Regions from separate parts of the Homo sapiens genome. Here all the other regions are linked to region 1. Evidence: promoter capture Hi-C in 16 types of primary human blood cells and fetal thymus (Javierre and others, 2016). All regions are on one chromosome and are shown on one strand. The core of a region is centred on a gene start or on the middle of the fragment in contact, and the rest is flanking DNA. Distances in the headings are between cores, read along the strand shown.

What was found. Contacts are between HindIII fragments. The CHiCAGO score rates a contact against its expected background, and 5 or more counts as called.
Region 2: a contact is called between a fragment that was not itself captured here and the fragment with the promoter of ZNF583 in region 1, in 1 of 17 cell types (naive CD8 T cells). The highest score is 8.1, in naive CD8 T cells.
Region 3: a fragment that was not itself captured here is called in contact with the fragment with the promoter of ZNF583 in region 1 in 3 of 17 cell types (non-activated CD4 T cells, naive CD8 T cells and total CD4 T cells); the score reaches 11.6 in non-activated CD4 T cells.
Region 4: a contact is called between a fragment that was not itself captured here and the fragment with the promoter of ZNF583 in region 1, in 2 of 17 cell types (total CD4 T cells and non-activated CD4 T cells). The highest score is 8.4, in total CD4 T cells.
Region 5: a fragment that was not itself captured here is called in contact with the fragment with the promoter of ZNF583 in region 1 in 2 of 17 cell types (naive CD8 T cells and non-activated CD4 T cells); the score reaches 10.0 in naive CD8 T cells.
Region 6: a fragment that was not itself captured here is called in contact with the fragment with the promoter of ZNF583 in region 1 in 2 of 17 cell types (total CD8 T cells and total CD4 T cells); the score reaches 8.5 in total CD8 T cells.
Region 7: a contact is called between a fragment that was not itself captured here and the fragment with the promoter of ZNF583 in region 1, in 1 of 17 cell types (activated CD4 T cells). The highest score is 5.9, in activated CD4 T cells.

What each region holds. Positions count from the first base shown.
Region 1 is chr19:56,402,976-56,405,706 of GRCh38, forward strand. It overlaps ZNF583 (zinc finger protein 583), which reads left to right and starts at 1,357. Exons shown (of 5, transcript NM_152478.3): 1 at 1,357-1,477. RefSeq lists an enhancer at 781-920 and a silencer at 1,381-1,590. The HindIII fragment of the contact is 8,045 bases long and covers 1-2,731 here.
Region 2 is chr19:37,360,060-37,362,790 of GRCh38, forward strand. ZNF875 (zinc finger protein 875) reads left to right here. Exons shown (of 5, transcript NM_001353803.2): 5 at 2,050-2,731. Among named protein-coding and RNA genes, the nearest start is that of ZNF527, 9.7 kb to the right of the region's middle. The HindIII fragment of the contact is 7,616 bases long and covers 1-2,731 here.
Region 3 is chr19:37,381,061-37,383,791 of GRCh38, forward strand. All of the region lies in intron 4 of ZNF527 (zinc finger protein 527), which reads left to right. Among named protein-coding and RNA genes, the nearest start is that of ZNF527, 11 kb to the left of the region's middle. The HindIII fragment of the contact is 4,583 bases long and covers 1-2,731 here.
Region 4 is chr19:37,581,339-37,584,069 of GRCh38, forward strand. It overlaps ZNF571 (zinc finger protein 571), which reads right to left. Exons shown (of 4, transcript NM_016536.5): 3 at 2,633-2,731. The region is part of intron 5 of ZNF571-AS1 (ZNF571 antisense RNA 1); the gene reads left to right. It also overlaps a transcript of ZNF540 not described here. Among named protein-coding and RNA genes, the nearest start is that of ZNF571, 12 kb to the right of the region's middle. The HindIII fragment of the contact is 5,270 bases long and covers 1-2,731 here.
Region 5 is chr19:37,602,733-37,605,463 of GRCh38, forward strand. The region is part of intron 4 of ZNF540 (zinc finger protein 540); the gene reads left to right. Among named protein-coding and RNA genes, the nearest start is that of ZNF540, 9.2 kb to the left of the region's middle. The HindIII fragment of the contact is 7,334 bases long and covers 1-2,731 here.
Region 6 is chr19:37,730,518-37,733,248 of GRCh38, forward strand. No RefSeq gene overlaps it. Among named protein-coding and RNA genes, the nearest start is that of ZNF607, 12 kb to the left of the region's middle. The HindIII fragment of the contact is 1,063 bases long and covers 873-1,935 here.
Region 7 is chr19:43,988,863-43,991,593 of GRCh38, forward strand. ZNF155 (zinc finger protein 155) reads left to right here. Exons shown (of 5, transcript NM_198089.3): 3 at 2,686-2,731. Among named protein-coding and RNA genes, the nearest start is that of ZNF155, 6.0 kb to the left of the region's middle. The HindIII fragment of the contact is 3,880 bases long and covers 1-2,731 here.

The DNA.
Region 1 (2,731 bases), core at 107-2,606:
GACATTCAACCCCACCCCCAACCCTAAGGAGGGGACGGGATTTTAATCAACCATGCCTATGTAATGAAGCCTCTGTAAAACTCCCAAAAGACAGGGTTTAGAGAGCTTCCACCCAGCTGAACATGTGGAGGTTACTGGAAGGTGCAACACCCTTTTTTCTGTACTTTGCCCTACGCATCTCTTCATCTATATCATTTGTAATATCCTTTATAATAAACTAGTAAACATAAGTGTTTCCTGAGTTCCGTGAGCCACTCTAGCAAAATATCGAACCGCAAAGAGGGGGTGGTGAAAATCCCAATTTGAAGGTGGTGGAGTCAGATGTTCCAGAGGCTAGACTTTAGTGGGAAGTGGGAAGGGGGAGGCAGGCTTGGGGACTGAGCCCTCAGCGAATGGTGTCTGACCCATCTCCAAGTAGACGGCGTCGGAATTAAACTGGAGGACACCCAGCTGGTGCCCGCTGCAGAACTCACTGAACTCATTGCTTGCTTGAGATGTGTGGGAAACTCCCCTATATTTGGTCAGAAAAGTCTTCTGTTATGATTAGTTGTCGTTGAGATAATAGAAAAAAATGCACCTTGCGTTTTTTCCACTGATTCAGAGGGCATAACTGAAAGAATGAAGAACTGAAAGAATGATCTTAATACTCTGCTTCGCTTTTCTTGATAATACGCATTACTTCCCAATATGCATCAGTGTCCTTTATTATTAATTTTTTCCTATTGAATTCCTCCCGCATTAGAATGCTGCTCCATGAGGTGGGGATTTTGTCTGCTTGTTCACTGCTGTGTGCCCAGGGCCCACGACAGTGCCCGATACAGCAGGCGCTCAATAAGTGGCGAATGAAAGACAGGGCAAGGCGGAGAGAGAAGAAACAGAAAGGGAAAGAGAAAGCCCGGGCCGCCAGAGCGCTTAATCACACGTACATCCTACCGGGCCCCTCTCCAGCTGGCTCAGGCTCCACACTGGTCCTCCAGCTCCCTTTTCTCAGCGATGGACTCACAGCCCCACCCGGAGCGCTGGAGCGCGGACGCGGTCACTGCGCGTGCGCCTCACCGCGCTGGCACCCCGGCCTGGCAGCCTTTGGGGACCTGAACCAGCTGCGCCTGCGCAGGTGGAACGGGTGGAACGGGTGGGGGAGCGGACAGTCGAACGGCCTGAGAGGGCTCAGCTGGTCCGGGTGGGATTCTGAAGGCCAGCGGAGGTGGGCTTACTAGGGAAAGGGGCGCAGCAGTAACTACCCGCAACTGAGCGGCGGGATCTGCGGCCGCCCGGGGCCCTCGGCCAACATCCCAGCATCCTCTGCGCCGCGCCGGCCCCGGACTCCATTTCCCAGCGGCCCCTGCGGCCTGCCCTAGGGCTGCGGCGCCTTTGTGAGCGCGGCCGCCGGCCAGGATCGAGCCCTGGCCCGGGCCCTGGCCCAGCCCCGGCCTCCAAGGACCGCGCCGAAGGAGGTGCCCACTGGAGGGAGGAGGCGGTGAGGAGCGCGGGATGGAGCTGACGCCGGGAGCGGCCATGCCACCATGTGTGGGACCGTGTGTGACAGTGTGTGAGAATGTGTGAGACATTAAGGAACCGTGTGTGACAATGTGTTTGACAGTGTGGAATCGTGTGTGAGACCATGTGTGACTGTGTGAGAATTTGAGACCGTGTGTGACAGTGTGAGAATGTGAGGCCGTGTGTGAATATGTGTGTCAGTGTGAGACCATGTGGGACAAATGTGGGACTATGTGTGACAGTATGAGACTGGGTGTGAGAATGTGTGCGACAGTATGAGACCGTTGCCCCGGTGTATGCGGGAGCCTTTGACAGTATATGGGACCGTGTGGGACTGTGTGACACTGTATGTGCTTAAGACCACGTCACCATGTGTGAGACTGGGAATGTGTGACAGTGTTAAACTGTCATTATGTGTAGACCACGTGTGAACAGTGTGTAAGACCATGTCACTGTGTGTGTGACCTGTGTGTGTGGGATAATGTAAGACTGTGTGACAGTGTGTGTGACTTTGTGAACAGAGCTTGACCGTGTGTGTAGGATTAGATGAGACTGTGACAGTATGTGAGACCATGTCACCGTGTGTGAGGCTATGTGTGGTTGTGTACGGTGTGTGGCTGTTGATATGGGACCACATGAAACTGCGACAGAATTTGTGTGACAGTGTGTGAGACTGTGTCACTGTATGTGAAACTGTATGTGAACAGAGTTTTTGTTGTTGGACTAAGATTGTATGTGACAGTGTTTGAGATTGTGCATGACAGTGTGTGTGATTATGTGAGACTGAGGGAGATGGTGTGACTTAGCACTGTATGTCATCCCGACAGTGAGTGTGACAGTGTGACTGAGAATGGCCTTATATGACCCATTGTGAGAGCAGGGCGGGCTACAATGTGGGGGCATGTCCATAGGTTGCCAGGGGAGGTGCCAGAATGAGAAACTATGTGGTTTGTTGTCTGTGATTTGTGTGGGCAGGAAGCTGTGTGGGTGCTTGGAGATGCTGGTGTGCTCTGGGGTTTGGGAGACTGCTGTTGTGGTGGAGAGACAGAAAGATTGAGATAAAGGGGAAAAGATGGAGAAAGGGAGGGACGAGAGCTGAAAAGGGAGAGACAGACAGGAGCCTCAGCCTTAAGCCTGAAAAGCTGACCACGCTGGCTGCTTGTCCTCTGGCACAGTAGTTTTTCCATCCCTCTCAGTCTCTGGGGGCACGTGAGGAATTTAAAAGGAAAAAGGA
Region 2 (2,731 bases), core at 135-2,634, about 19 Mb before region 1:
TCTTACATTTAGAGCTACAATCCATTTTAGTTAATTTTTATGTATCAAATGAGGTGAAAATCTAAATTCATTTTCTTGCATATGAATATTCAGTTGTCCTTACAATCTCATATAAAGAGTATCCTTCCTCCCATTGAATTACCTTGGCACCTTTATCAAAAATCAGCTGACTGTGAATCTAAGTGTTCATTTCTAGTCTCCTGATTTTGTTCCATGATCTCCATCTTCCTCCTATGACAGTAGCACACTATCTTCATTACTGTAGCTTTATATTAAGTTTTGAAGTTAGAAGTATACACTCCCCAACTTTATTTTCTTTTTCAGAAATTGTTTTGTCTATTTTATGTCCTTTGAATTTCAATGTAAGTTTTAGGATCAGATTGTGAATTTCCAAAAGGGAAAAAAACCAAAAGCCTGCTGTGGTTGTGATACCATGATTATGTTGAATCTGCAGATAAATTTTGGTGAGAATCACCATCTTAATAATAGTAAGCCTTCCAATCTATGACTGTCTCCCTATTTATTTGGAGCTTTAACTTCATTCAACAATGTTTGTTAATTTTCTTTTTAAAAATCTTTCTTCTTTTCCTCCTTTCCTTTCCTTTTCTCTTTCTCTTCTCTTTCTTTCATCCCACTATGTTGCCCAAACTGGCCTCTAACTTCTGGCCTCAAGCAATCCTCCCACCTCAGCCTCCTTAAGTGTTGGGATTACAGGCATGAGCCACCGTGCCCAGCCTTAATTTTCAGTTTACAAACTTTGTGCTACTTTGTCACATTTATTCCTTAGCATTTTATTATTTTTATGCTATCGTGAATAGTATTGTTTTCTCAGTTTCATTTTTAGAATAGTCATTGCTAGTATATAGAAATATAATTATTTTTTATATATTTATCTTATATGACCTAAGTACAATTATGACTTCTAGTTGCTTTTTTGAAATTTTATGCTTACAAAATTATATAATCTGTGAACAAGAGATTTTTTTTACTTCTTCCTTTCTAGTTAAGATGCCTTTCATTTATTTTCTCCTCATTTTGTTTGTCTTCTCCTTTTTTTTTTTTTTTTTTTTGAGACAGAGTCTCACTGTGTCACCAGGCTGGAGTGTGGTGGCACGATCTCAGCTCACTGCAACGTCCGCCTCCGGGGTTCAAGCGATTCTCCTGCCTCAGCCTCCCAAGTAGCCGAGACTACATGTGTGTGCTACCATAGCCAGCTAATTTTTCTATTTTTAGTGGAGACAGGGTTTCGCCATGTTGGCCAGGATGGTCTCAATCTCTTGACCTCGTGATCTGCCCGCCTCGGCTTCCCAAAGTGTTGGGACTACAGGCGTCATAAGTTTTTGAGAACACGTGCAATATTTGCCACTTCTTCTTTCTTCTTCTCCTTTTCCTTCTCCTCCTCCTCCTCCTTCTTCTTCCTTCCTTTCTCTTTCTCTTTTCTGTGTCTCCCTCTTTTGAATTCAACCCCTTAAAAAGGTAAAAACCATTTTTAGCTGGCAGGCCATACAGAAACAGGTTTCAGGCTGGATTTGGCCTGTCAGGTGAGTTTGCCAACTCCTGCAATAGAAAATGTAATGCATAGGGCTAGACACAGTGGCTTATGCCTGTAATCCCAGCACTTTGGGAGGCTTAGGCTGACCTGAGGTCAGGAGTTCAAGACCAGCCTGGCAAACACGGTAAAACTCTGTCTCTACTAAAAATACAAAAATTAGCTGGGCGTAGTCTTGGACGCCTGTAATCCCAGCTACTCGGGAGGCTAAGGCAGGAGAATCGCTTGAACCCTGGAGGCGGAGGTTGCAGTGAGCTGAGATCGCACCACTGCACTCCAGCTTGGGTGAAAGAAAGACTCCGTTTAAAAAAAAAAACAAAAAAACAAAAGAAAGTGTAATGCATGAAGTGAAATGAAAAATAGATGCTGGGAAGGATGTCTAACTGGGAGATAGCTTGTGATGTAAATATGTAAATATATTATGAATGACCAGTGGGCAAGGCAAAATTGCCTACACAGCCCTACCTATGGCCCCTCTGAAAATGTTCTTTCTTCAGCAGAATCGAAGCCAGAAATTCAACTTAGTCCCTCCTGCCCTCTGATTTTCTCCAGTCAGCAAGCTCTCAGCCAACATGTGTGGCTGAGTCATCTCTCTCAGCTGTTTTCAAGTTTATGGGCAGGAAATCCTCTCCACCTGGGAAAACACTATCCAGAAGATCAGAAACAACAGCAGGATCCATTCTGCTTTAGTGGCAAAGCAGAATGGATTCAAGAGGGAGAAGACTCCAGACTCCTGTTTGGGAGAGTAAGCAAAAATGGCACTTCAAAGGCACTTTCCAGCCCACCTGAAGAACAACAGCCAGCACAGTCCAAGGAAGACAACACAGTGGTGGATATAGGGTCCAGCCCTGAACGGAGGGCAGATCTAGAGGAAACAGACAAAGTATTGCATGGTTTAGAAGTCTCAGGATTTGGAGAAATCAAATATGAAGAGTTTGGGCCAGGCTTTATCAAGGAGTCAAACCTCCTTAGCCTCCAGAAGACACAAACTGGGGAGACACCTTACATGTACACTGAGTGGGGAGACAGCTTTGGCAGTATGTCAGTCCTCATCAAAAACCCAAGGACACACTCTGGGGGAAAGCCTTATGTGTGCAGGGAATGTGGGCGAGGCTTTACGTGGAAGTCAAACCTGATCACACATCAGAGGACACACTCAGGGGAGAAACCTTATGTGTGCAA
Region 3 (2,731 bases), core at 78-2,577, about 19 Mb before region 1:
TCATCATTTTGATTAAGTCACTATTCAGCATTTATTTTATTATGGCCATTTAGTGCTAGTCATAGCTGTGCTGTGCATATGGCAAGTTACTTTTTCTCTACTCCTTTTTATTTTTCCTGGAGTTAATAATGACTTGGGAATTTTGTTTGTTTGTTTGTTTGTTTTTGCTCAGTTTATATATACATAACCCTAATCCAGTTCCCGACTTACCATCAATTGTCTGAGTCTTTCAAGATACTTGGACATATTAGGTGATCTATCCACTTCATCTTCTTGGAGAAATCTCTCCTGGAATCCTCAGATACGCTTCACTCTACACAAATGGCTCATTATATTTGCATGCACTCAATTTGGATCTATCTGATTTATCTGATATTTTCTCATAATTAGATTGAGGTAGTGCATTTTTGCAAAGAATGTCACAGAAATAATGTTGTATCTCTCTCAGTGCATCATTCCAAAGGATGTATAATATCGATATGTCTTATTATCGGTGATGTTAACTTTGCACACTTAGTGAAGGTAGTGTCTGCTTGGTTTCTCCATTATAAAGTTCTTATTTTTCTATTTGTAGTTAATAAATATCTTGGGGGAGATACTTTGAGATTATTCAGTTTCTTCTGTAATTTTTGCCCATTTATTTTAGCATTTATTGCTGGATCTCTTCAACTATTATTACTGTGGTATTAACCTAATGTTGATTTGTTCCATTTCCCTCTTTTCTTTGTGTATATTAATTGGGATTGTTCTGAAGGAAGAGCTGCTCTTTCTCCTCCATTTACTTATATATTCAATTATATTTATGGATTTTTTTCCTATGAGGTAAATCTAATTTACCTCATAAAATTTAATGACTTCATAAAATTTAAATGGATTTATTTTTGGATTTATGGATTTTTATTTCTATGAAGTAAATCCAATGAATCATTATGTTTCTCAAATCGTTCCAGCTTTGAATGTTGGAATCTCCTTCACATTGGTTCCTTTGACCTTCTGACATGCCCCCATGCATTTTTTGGGCACGTCCTTCCTTCTGGCACAAGGTATTCCAGGTTCTCTTATTTTCCTTGCCCCAGCCTTGAATCAACCACTTCTCCAAGGAGCCCTCATTGCTTTATTGGGAAATGGTGTTTAGAAACCAAGCTAGGTATGCTCTAGGCTACTGGGATATCACTCTTTCTGGCCCTGACAGCAGCTAAAGCTAGGAAACAGATAGATAGATAGGTAGATAGATAGATAGATAGATAGATAGATAGATAGATAGATAGATATTTACACACACACCCCTATATTTATTTCTGCCTCTTTTTTTCCCATTTTTTATTACCTCTATCTTTTTATATACTAAAACTATCAGTTTATATTAATAACTTGATTTCTAGTCCTGCTTTACAGGGTTTATTGTAGCCTTCCTCCTTGACTTATTTGTAATTTCTTTTTCTGATAATGAGAAAAAATATATTTACCTATTTGTTCAATTTTAGTATACACATAAAGTAGTTTCAGAATTTCTAACTTACTTCTCTGTGAGAAACAAATTTACCAACTAGATTTAGGTATTTGTATATAGTACTTTTTGTTTTAGTCTTATAGTGTCCAGTCAAAATACTATTTCCAAAATTACTTAGGTTGGTTATTTCAGGTCCATTTGTTACTGTTTTTGTTTGAGATGGAGTCTCGCTCTGTCACCAGGCTGGAGTGCAGTGGGCAATCTCGGCTCACTGCAAGCTCCGCCTCCCGGGTTCAAGTGATTCTCCTGCCTCAGCCTCCCGGGTAGCTGTGACTACAGGCGCATGCCACCACGCCTGGCTAATTTTTGTATTTTTAGTAGAGACAGGGTTTCACCATGTTGGCCAGGATGGTCTCAATCTCTTGACCTCGTGATCCGTGCCAGCCTTGGCCTCCCAAAGTGCTGGGATTACAGTTATGAGCCACCATGCCCGGCCGTATATACGTAGTTTTATAAGGAATTGCTACATTCCCCTCCAGAAAAGTTGTCTGCTTAGTTTTTTTCCTGCTGTAACAAATTAGCACACATTTAGTGGCTTAATCCAACACAAATTTATTGTAGCTCTGGAGGTCAGAAGTAAAAAGTAGGCCTTACAGAGCTAAAATCAAGATGTCAGCAGCCTATATTCCTTCCTAAAACTGTATGGGAGAATGCGTTTCCTTGATTTTTTATGCTTTTTTTTTGAGATGGAGCCTTGCTCTGTCACCCAGGCTGGAGTGCAATGGCACGATCTTGGCTCACTGCAACCTCTGCCTTCCAGGTACAAGGGATTTTCCTGCCTCAGCCTCCCGAGTAGCTGGGATTACAGGTGCTCACCATCATGCCCAGATAATTTTTGTAATTTTAGTAGAGACAGGGTTTCGCCATGTTGGCCAGGTTGATCTCAAACTCCTGACCTCAGGTGATCCACCCTTCTTGGCCTCCCAATGTGCTGGGATTATACAGGTGTGAGCTACCACACCCAGCTGATTTTTTTTTTTTTTTTGAGACAGAGTTTTTCTCTTGTTGTCCAGGCTGGAGTGCAGTGGCGCAATCTTGGCTCACTGCAATCTCCACCTCCTGGGTTCAAGCGATTCTCCTGTATCAGCCTCCCAAGTAGCTGGGACTACAGGTGCGTACCACCACACCCAGTTAATTGTTGTATTTTTAGTAGAGACCGGGTTTCACCATATTGGCCAGGCTGGTCTCGAACTCCTGACCTTGTGATCCACCTGCTTCGGC
Region 4 (2,731 bases), core at 74-2,573, about 19 Mb before region 1:
TAACAGCAACACGTCTTAAAGCACACTTTCAAGCAACCGTCCTTTTTGACCACCACCACTGAAGTTACCAGATCATTTACCTTTATACCACCCCTCCAGCATTTTATCTCCATTTCTTTCTTTCTTTCTTTTTTTTTTTTTTTTGGAGACATGGTCTTGCTCTGTCGCCCAGGCTGAAATGCAGTGGCGTGATCATGGTTCACTGCAACCTCGACCTCGGGGCTCAAATGATCCTCCCAACTCAGTCTCCCAAGTAGCTAGGACCACAGGCATGTGACATAATGCCCTGCTAATTTTTATTTTAAGTAGAGATGGGGTTTTGCTATGTTGCCCAGGCTGGTCCTGAATTCCTGGGCTCAAGCAATTCACCCACCTCAGCCTCCCAAAGTACTGGGATTACAGGCTTGAGCCATTGTGCCCAGCCTACCACCATTTTAAAGATTCTCCTGTGAAAAAAAAACAAAAAACAAAAACCTCTCCTGATTCTGTGGTTCACCCTGCAGTGGACAGGAGCTGCAGGGTGAACCAGGAGAATGGCAAAACTTCTCAAGAGGTATGCATGCTTCCTGTCTATACCTTTTGCTTTTCTTTCTCTCCTACCACCATAATTAACATTTTGCCATATTTCCTTCCTAAATTTGTTCCATGGATTTTTATGTAGTTGAAATAATACTGCATATATAAACTCTAATCACACTTCTTTCCCCTAATTATTACAGTGTTCTTAAAACCTTCTAAAATATTGTAAACTCTATTTGTAACTTTGAGGGTTCCTCAAATGGGCCTTCAACAGTGCCTGGTGAGTTAATTCACTGTCCCACTCTAGTTTTTATTGTTGACTTACTTCTTTCTCACTCTCTTTTAAATACTCCACAATGAGGTTTTTGTTCCTCTCATTGCCAAACCCACCTTGTCAGGGTCACCAACACCCTTCATCCTGCCAAATCCAATAGCCAATTTTCAGCGTTCCTCTTACTTGAACTCCTAGCATTATCTCTCTCAGCTAACTGCTTCCTCCTTTTGTCAGTTGGCTTCCAATACACTGCATTCCCTCTTCCTAGGTCACAGGTTACTCAGGTTAGTCCTCAATTTCCTTTGCTAGATTGTTTTCCTGACTGAATGTTGGAACACCCCATGGTTCAGTCCTTGAGCTGTACCTTGCCTTCCGTCTAAACCAATTCGCTCCATAATCTCATTCAGTTCCTCGGTACAGAGAGTAATCCCATATTTATCTCTTCAGTCCTGACTATCCCCTCCACCCACAGGCTTCCAAATGCTTATCTAACTTCACCACACAGATATCTAATGAGCATATCAAATACGTAACTCTTGACTTCCTTCTCCAGCCTTCCAAACCCTGATGCCTCTATTGCCAATCTTCAAAATAACTCCATTATGAAGGTATTAATTCTACCTTCAAAATATAGCCTGTTCTCATCACCTCCACATATTAAACCCAATTCCAAGCCACTGTTATCTCTAGTGTGAACTTCTGAACTAGTCCTCTCATTAGTCTTCCTGCTTTCATTTTTATCCTCACTGTTCACATAGCACTCAGTGACCTCTAAACAAAGATCCTTTACTTGTCTGCAAAAAGTCAGCCAGGGGCTCCCTATCACACTTAGAATAAAATCTCACTGCTTGCAACAACCAACAAGGTCCTACATGATTTGACCTCTGCCTATTTCTCTAACCTCACCTCAAATTTCCACTTTCAGTAGCCACACTGGCCTTCTTGCTGATTCTCAAACAAGTGAAGCTCAGTTTCTCTCAGGATCTTCTCTTCCCTCTGCCTGAACACACCTTTCCCTGATTTACAGCCAACTTTATTCAGGTCTTAATTCAAATGTTACCTCCCCTGAGCTATCATTCCTGGTCCTCCTAACCTATGAACGTAGCAAGCTCTCAGTACGTATGTGCTGGCTAGAGATACTTATCCAAGTTTAACTATAAAAGAGCAACCAGGAAAAACGTAATTCAAAAAATAGATAAAAGCATTGTCCCCAAAAGAGATCAGACCAAAGGTAGCTCCCTTATTAAAACAAAAAGGGAATGTAAAACAGAAGAGTGGCAAATGGGAGTTGGGAGGGAGGTTCCACGGGGAACTCACACACATAACCTTCCTGCTCTCCCTATGTCTCAAGCCTTCTTTCCACAGGCCTTTGAAGAGAGCTTCAGGCACACACCTCAAAGTGCTGCCACCTACGGATCAGCTGTATTATTAGCAATAGCTGACACTGTGACCAGCCTTTATTCACCTGAGCTCTGTCTTTATGTCATGGTTCTCATCAGCATCCAGGGCTCCTTTCCTTGCTCCAGTAAGGAAAGTATATTTGGCTTAGGGACTGCACATACAGCTTAAAAGAAAGGAAATGGTGCATGGTCATGCTAGGGGATTCCCAGATTCAAATCTAGTCCATTGGCATCAAAGAAGGGAGACACTGACAGGAAGTGACAGAGAAAGATGTGACAGTCTAAAGGATAAGAGATAAAAAGGTACACGGTGGAGCTGTCCATTTCTACTTCTACTCAAACGTAAGCCTTTCCTTAGGGAATGGAGATCAGAAATTCACAATGAATGAGGCAGAAATTATGGGGAACAAATTCTGAATATTACGTAGGATGATCTTACCCAATGAGATCAGGTTGCTGTAGTTCTCCAACATCACATCCCTGTACAAGTCCCTCTGAGCAGGGTCCAGGCATTCCCATTCCTCCTGAGAGAAGTCAA
Region 5 (2,731 bases), core at 149-2,648, about 19 Mb before region 1:
TCAAGTGGAAGGGAGTAGTCATCTGTGAGGTCAACTGAACTGTAAACTGCCTATAGGATATGGCAGGAAAGAAGCTGGTGGTGACCTTGTGTTAAGAGGACAAGGTTTCAGTGGAGTCAGAGGTGAAAAAAGCCTGCTAGATGTGGCTGAAATAAAATGGGAGGTGAGGCAGTGATGACAGTGAGATAGAAAACTTTTCTAATGGGAAATCTGTTAGGAGGGAACTAGATAAGAGGTTAGTAGCTAGAAGAGGATATGGGATGTAAGGAGTCTTTTTTTTTTTTTTTTTTTTGAGACAGAGTTTTGCTCTTGTTGCCTAGGCTGCAGTGCAATGGCATGATCTCGGCTCACTGCAACCTCCACCTCCCGGGTTCAAGCAATTCCCCTGCCTCAGCCTCCTGAGTAGCTGGTATTACAGGCGCCTGCCACCACGCCTGGCTAATTTTTGTATTTTAGTAGAAACGGGGTCTCACTATGTTGGCCATGCTGGTCTTGAACTCCTGACCTCAGATGATCCACCCATCTTGGCCTCCCAAAGTGCTGGGCGTGAGCCACCATGCCTGGCCAGGAGTCTATTTCAAGATGTGAGATTTTAAGATGAAAATGATTCTATAGAAAGGGGAAAAATTGTAGTAGAGGGAAGGATAATTATGGAAATTGGAGGACAAGGAGGTAGGATCCAGTGCACAAGAAAAATTTAGAGAACTATAGATACGACAATGGATATAGGTGGGTTGATTGATGTGGTATTATGTATTTCTTTTCAATGCTTCATTTTTATTAGAGGAATAAGGGAGATCATCAGCTAAGAATTGGCAGGAGGGAAAGGAGAGTTATGTTTGAGGTGAAAGATGTAAATATATTTTGAATACTGGTGTTCAGTTTACTTGCATCTCAATAGCTCGTTCACTTTTTATTTTCTGTTAATCAGGAGTTAATAATAATAACAGTTAACATTGATTATTTACTGTATACCAGATTTAGTCATTTCACAATGTATATATTCTTCAAAATATGTTGTACAGAGTAAATACATAAAATTTATCTGTCAATGTAAAAAATAATGCATTTTTAAAACTATGAAGAAAAGGCTATTAAGTTCTATATAGTATGTTGATTCCTCTATATCAAGCCAAATTCTGATTTGTATTTTATTTGCAGATTTTTTTTAGTTGAAATTCTTGGGCTGTATATAATCAGATCATTTGCAAATCATGATAGTTTTTCATTCTTTCTTAAAAATGTTTGCCTCTAAAGTTCTTAATTCTGCTTAGTTGTTTTGCTTATCATAATTTTATAAAAAGGATAAGATAACTTTTCTTTTTGCTCTTTTCTCGAGTAGCTAAACTAACTTTAAAATTATCTGTTCTTTAAAACTTTGATAGACGTCTATGAAATTGTTTGCAAGGATAGGTGTTTCACAATGGAATTTCATTTGCTTAGGCTTTTTATTTCTTCTGTGGTCAATACAGGAAATTAATAGTTTCCTTAAAATTTTTTATTCTGGAATATACAGGATTATTTTGTTTAGAGCATTACATAGAGCTTTGGAAAATAGCCTTACTTTTTTTTTTTTTTTTTTTTTTTTTTTTTAAGGCGGAGTCTCGCTCTGTCGCCCAGGCTGGAGTGCAGTGGTGCGATCTCGGCTCACTACAAGCTCCGCCTCCCGGGTTCACGCCATTCTCCTGCCTTAGCCTCTGGAGTACCTGGGACTACAGGTGCCCACCACCACGCCTGGCTAAGTTTTTGTATTTTTAGCAGAGATGGGGTTTCACCGTGTTAGCCAGGATGGTCTCGATCTCCTGACCTTGTGATCCGCCCGCCTCGGCCTCCCAAAGTGCTGGGATTACAGGCATGAGCCACCGCGCCTGGCCAGCCTTACTATTTTTTTTCAAATCAGCTTTATTGAGATATGATTTATATAGAATAAAATTCATTAATTGTATCTGTTTAATTATTTTGGACAAACACGTGAGTCTTGTAATCATCACCACTTCAGTCAAGATGTAGAACATGTCTATCATGTCAAAACTTTCCATTATGTTTCTTTACAGTCAGTACCCTTCCCCCACTTTCAGCTCAGCCCGTGACAGGCAACTAAGTTGCCTTCTTTCCCTAATTTTGTCTTTTCTACAATTTCATATCAAATAAATCAGAATATGCAGTATTCTGTGTCATACTACTTCTACTTCTGATATTTATGCGATTCATCCAAGTAGTTAGAAGTCTCAGTAGTTAATTCCTTTTTCTTGCTGAATAGTATTTCATATCTGCTTATTAGTTAACAGTTTATGAACATCTAAGTTGTTTCTAGTCTTTCGCAGGCATGAATAAAGCTATTATGAGTGCTTGTTTACAAGTCTTTGTTTTAATGTATGCTTTGTTACCTCGGGTTAAACACCTGAGGGTGGGATTCATGGATTATATAAGTATATATAAGAAACTGGGCTGGGCGCAGTAGTTCATGCCTGTAATCCCGGCACTTTGGGAGGCTAAGGCAGGCGGATCGCTTGAGCCCAGGGGTTCAAGACCAACCTGGGCAACATGGCAAACCCTGTCTCTACTAAAAATACAAAAATTAGCTAGGCATGGTGGTACACACCTGTAAAAACTTTATTTAAAAAAAAAGAAACTGGGCTGGGTGCGGTGGCTCATGCCTGTAATCCCAGCACTTTGGGAGGCCGAGGTGGGTGGATCACGAGGTCAGGAGTTCGAGACCAGCCTGACCAAC
Region 6 (2,731 bases), core at 154-2,653, about 19 Mb before region 1:
CCACACTCAGACTTAAGTGTTAGTAGGTAATATTAATAGAAATGGAAGTTCCGAGGTAATTCTTAGATACACTGGGTTATGGAAAGGCAAACAAACTTTCTACACCACAGTGCACGTCAATCTTGTGAGAGGTTAATCATGTGGTTTTTGTTTGTTCCAAGAGCAGGAGATTGCTTCATTGGCTTGTCTAAGAACATAAACCATTTTTCAATTATCAAGTACAGTGGTCATCTAACCTATAGCAAAATCATTCTGCATTGTGTTTTATTTCATTATCAAAACTTAAAATTGCATAGGGGAAATGATGTTAATATTTAAAGGCGAATTATTTCCTTTGTGGACAAAAGGGATATGAGCATGTAGATCACAACGAATGATCACACTGACACTACAGACACAATGAATGATCACGCTGACACTAAAGACACAACAAATGATCACGCTGACACTACAGACACAATGATGACGCTGACACTACAGACACAATGAATGATCACGCTGACACTACAGACACAACGAATGATCACGCTGACACTACAGACACAACGAATGATCACGCTGACACTAAAGACACAACAAATGATCACGCTGACACTACAGACACAATGTTCACGCTGACACTACAGACACAACGAATGATCACGCTGACACTACAGACACAACGAATGATCACGCTGACACTACAGAACTTTGGCTGACAATGCATAATGCGTGATGCTCCTTAGTTTGGAAAAGTAATTTTTATAGGGCTGGAAGTGAGTTTAGGTAGTTATCAACTGCAATCCTGATTTCCAAAAGGTTTTTAAAAAGGTAGTTTTTAGAATTGATGGTATCGTGCACATAATTCATCCCATTTATAAAACTGTATATAAAGCTTAGAAAAATTACAAGGATAAACACAGATCAACATTCCTTTTCTTTCATTTGTCTAGAATATATTGAACCAGAAGAATGAATTGACTCTGCCAGAAAAATGACTATTGCACAATTATTTTAAAAGAATCTTAGAGTTTGCTGATATCATACTCAGAAATTTTCCATTTACCCTAATGAGTGAAACTCATCTTGTTTTCAATCATGTTTTAAAAATTCCGATTTCCTACAATATCTATGTCATTTTGAAAAACTATATTCTTTCACAAATATAATTCCTTCTCAAAATACATTAGAGATTGCTAAATATTTTGGTATAAACATCAAAAATTAACTCTTTCTTTTGAGACTGGTTCTCGCTCTATTGCCCAGGCTGGAGTGCAATGGCATGATCTCGGCTCACTGCAATCTCTGCCTCCCAGGTTCATGCGATTCTCCTGTCTCAGCCTCCCAAGTAGCTAGGATTACAGGCGCATGCCACCATGCCCAGCTAATTTTTGTATTTGTAGTAGAGATGAGGTTTCATCATGCTGGCCAGGCTGGTCTCGAACTCCTGACCTCAAATGATCCACCTGCCTCGGCGTCCCAAAGTGCTGGGATTACAGGCGTGAGCCACTGTGCCCGGCAAAAATTAACTTTTAATTTAAAACATTTTCTTCATATCTCTTTTAAAATTTTTCTTGATTATATCTAGAGATTTAGCTCATGTTCCACAAAATGGGAGGGGGTAAGATTTGAATAAAAACTAGTTTTATTTCCTAATCATTAATCTCTTTATCTAGTTTTATTAATTTTTTCTTAATATTGGTATATTTGTTTTCCTTTCTTCTAGCCTCATATATTAACATTGTTTCTATCCACAGATTTATAGTCTAACCTTTAACAGGCAGTTCATATGTGCTACACAGAGAGATGAATACAATGACATCTTTTTGTTTCAATCCTTGTTTCCTGAATTAAAGGGATTATGTTTTCAAATTAACGGATCAATGTAGCACCCATCAAATTACTAATGCAAAATGGAATTGTTCAATGGAGAGCTGACAGTTGCCTCTTTAAGCAAGCTTTACAGTGTAGCATAAATAATCATGTAAAAACCTGATATGCTTTCAGAAGTCTGCAGCATCATTCATGAGATGTTCTTGACAAAAATCTCAACCTAATGAATTTTCTAGACATAACTGCCAATTTATGGGAAAACAAGGGACAGAGCAACAAGTTAAATCATACTGTGAAGCAGAAATCAAGAATGTGGGACATTCTTTGGGTACTTAAAAAAGAAAAATTCAGGCTGGGTGTGGTGGCTCACGCCTGTAATCCCAGCACTTTGGTAGGCCAAGGCGGGTGGATCACAAGGTCAAGAGATCCAGACCATCCTGGCCAACATGATGAAATCCCGTCTCTACTAAAAATGCAAAAATTAGCTGGGTGTGGTGGCATGCGCCTGTAGTCCCAGCTACTTGGGAGGCTGAGGCAGAATTGCTTGAACCCGGGAGGCAGAGGTTGCAGTAAGCCAAGATCGCACCACTGCACTCCAGCCTGGTGACAGAGTGAGACTCTGTCTCAAAAAAAAAGAAAAAAAAAAGGAAAAATTCAAAAGCATGAAAAAGTGGGGATATTATCCTAGAGAAAAGGAATAAATTAAAAAAAAATCCCAAATGCAATGAATTAACCAAGAGTGGATACTGATTAGAAAATAAGTCGTTATAAAAAATCTTTGGGCACATATTTGAAGACACTATATAAATTATTACATTTTTCCAGTATGATTATAGTATCACAGTTATCCAGGAAATTTGCATATATTTAAAGGCAAAGGGCCATGGTATCTACAACTTACTCTCAAATGATACAGAAA
Region 7 (2,731 bases), core at 106-2,605, about 12 Mb before region 1:
ATTTGTAACTGTATTTGTATTGATGATATACATCTAATTGTAAACTGTGCTCTTTTTATATGTTATATAATCTTCCATTTTTATGGTTACATCATATTCCTATTACATTGATGTATCTTTTTATTTATAACTACCTCACGCTCATAGACATATTTTAAGCAACACTGCAGTGACAGCTTTCCTATACATAACCTTTTCCCACAAAATTAATTTTGAAAACCATATGCCATTTTAGCTCAATTTTGAAAGGGTACTTTTGATATGTACCACATTGGCTGTTTTGCAGATAGAATATTTTAACTAGGCACAGAACAAAAGGATGTAACTGCTGCACCACACAAATATTGTTGGAGTTTTCACACTGGAAGAGCTAGATTCTGTGTTCTCCTTGTCTCAGTCATACTTTGCATGTGCTTTATTTACTGGTCTCTTCTTATTCATTTATGTAGTAAGCAGTTTAACCAAAGCAGTAGAAAGCCTTCATTTAAAATGTCCAGTGATACTAAGTTTTGCCAATCACTTGTGTTCTGTTACTACATTTACTCCTCAGCGCAGCGGAATGAGGTTCCTGGTCTCTTCTTCTTCTTGAACAGGTGAAATATGAGAAACCTTCTCAGGTGTACACAGGCAACCAAAGGTCAGGAGTGTTAGCCATTCGGCTCAGGTGAAAAAGAGAAACAAGGAGAGAGACAGAATTCTCCATTGAGCAACCTGTGCCCTGTGATGTGGATGTCTGGAGTGCCCTGTGGAGTGATGGTGTCCCTAGTGGTGCTGCTCCTCCCTGTCCCTACTTGGTGTGACTTCTTGTCACATGTCACTATGACATGGCATCTACTCCAGGCACTGAAGTATACTGATTACCATAGTTGTTATAGAAAATCTTTAAATCCCTTTTGGCAAAAGATGCCTCACACAATGTTACCAGAAGAAATAATGACCTGGGGCAGAAATGTTAGCCACGTGGATACCTAAAGAAAATAAAATTCAAAATCAAAACCTTGAGCACAGAATAAAGGAAAAACTCCAAACAGATAGGAACAAAGGACACTAAAAGGCCAATGTAAAAGGAGAAGTAGAGATGGCCAATAACCTTGAAAAGTGATGGTTTTCATTTGTAATCAAATAAGTGAGAATAATAGAATGATTTGTTCCCCAAATCAGATTACCAAGACTGTGGGAATACTTATAACCTGCTCTTGGTCATGATAAAGAGAAGCAAAGTACTTGTATTCTGTTCAAAGATTATGGAGGTAGGTAAAAAACTGGGAAGAAAGCATGCAGTTATATGATCACAGTTCTAAATGTGCTTATTTTTTGATGTTTTAATTTTCATTTGAAATTATTATTTTAAACAATGAGAGAGTAAGATGTTCTTACATCTTGCTACATCATTACTTAATGATGCTCTTTACAGGATTGATAATGGAAAATATGTAAAATTAAATATTCTTTACTGTAGCTAAAAGTAGGTCATCAGATCTCTGGAATACTATGCAGCCATGAAATAGATAATGCTAGTAACAACAGTAAAAAAGATTCCAGCTAATGTTCATTAAACAGTGGCACAGATGTTTCCAAATGCTATGTATTTCCTTGTTTAATCCTTTAAAATACTGTGCCAAATAAGGACTATTATTTAGAGAGGAAAGTAAATCCTGTAGGCAAACATGTCTAAGGCCACACAGTTAGGAAGGGGCAGACCCTTAGGATGTACAGTGATGCATTCTGGCTTCTGATCAGGACACTGAAGGCTGCAATTAACATTTGTGGTTTGTACCTTGAGAGTAGAGGACACACTACATAACTGTCCCACTCAGCTGTCCACACTGGTACTGTGGAGTAGGTTCACTGTGCACTGATTACCAACTTGTGTGAGTCCTGTGAGACAGAACACGATCTCACTCAACAGATTACGTGAAGCAGATTTGTTATCTACAAATTGGCAGCAAGGGAGCACAGGAGTGTAGGATACACTGTGAGGTGGCCATCCAAGGCTGAAGAAAACGTCCTGGGGTGGGTAGAATCTTGACCCCATTTCCACCAGAGCAGAGGTACCCCAGAAGGCAGCCCACCCGAGGTTATATACCTCCGGGGCAATACGACTTACTGGGCACTTTCTCCCTAACTCAAGACATTATCTTCCCTAGGAAGGACAGGAACATTGCATTGCTAGCATGTTCTATGTTTATTCTTCAAAACTATACACAAGAAAGAATGATTCAAGGCCACCCTGAAAATTACCCACAGTTACCTAAAACTTGTTAGTTTAGCAAATACTAAAGAAAAGCAATAGCATCCAGGGTTTGAGTACGAGAGAGGAGGACCCAACAAAGTTGGGACTGAATTGTTTAATGTTGCTGGGGCAGTTGGCAAGATGTGTCGAACCTATATATGGGTAGCTCAGGATGCAGCATGTAGAGTCCTAGAGGGTTACATACAAGTAGACTCAATGAGTGCACAGAATAAATGTATGAGACTTCATCATTGCACTTCTGGTGGAGTTCAGGAAAATCAGTATGTGTCATTGTCAGGATATAGACAGAATGAGTGGGAAATCTCTAAGTTGACCTACATCCCTCAATACTGAGAACAACTTTCCACTCATCCCCTTCCCCTGCTCAATGCCGCTTCTCCCCCAGTAGTCCTTGGTCATAAGATTGAAGTTATGTCTTCTTGATGTTGTAGGAGGCAGTGACCTTCAAGGATGTGGCTGTGGTCTTCACTGAGGAGG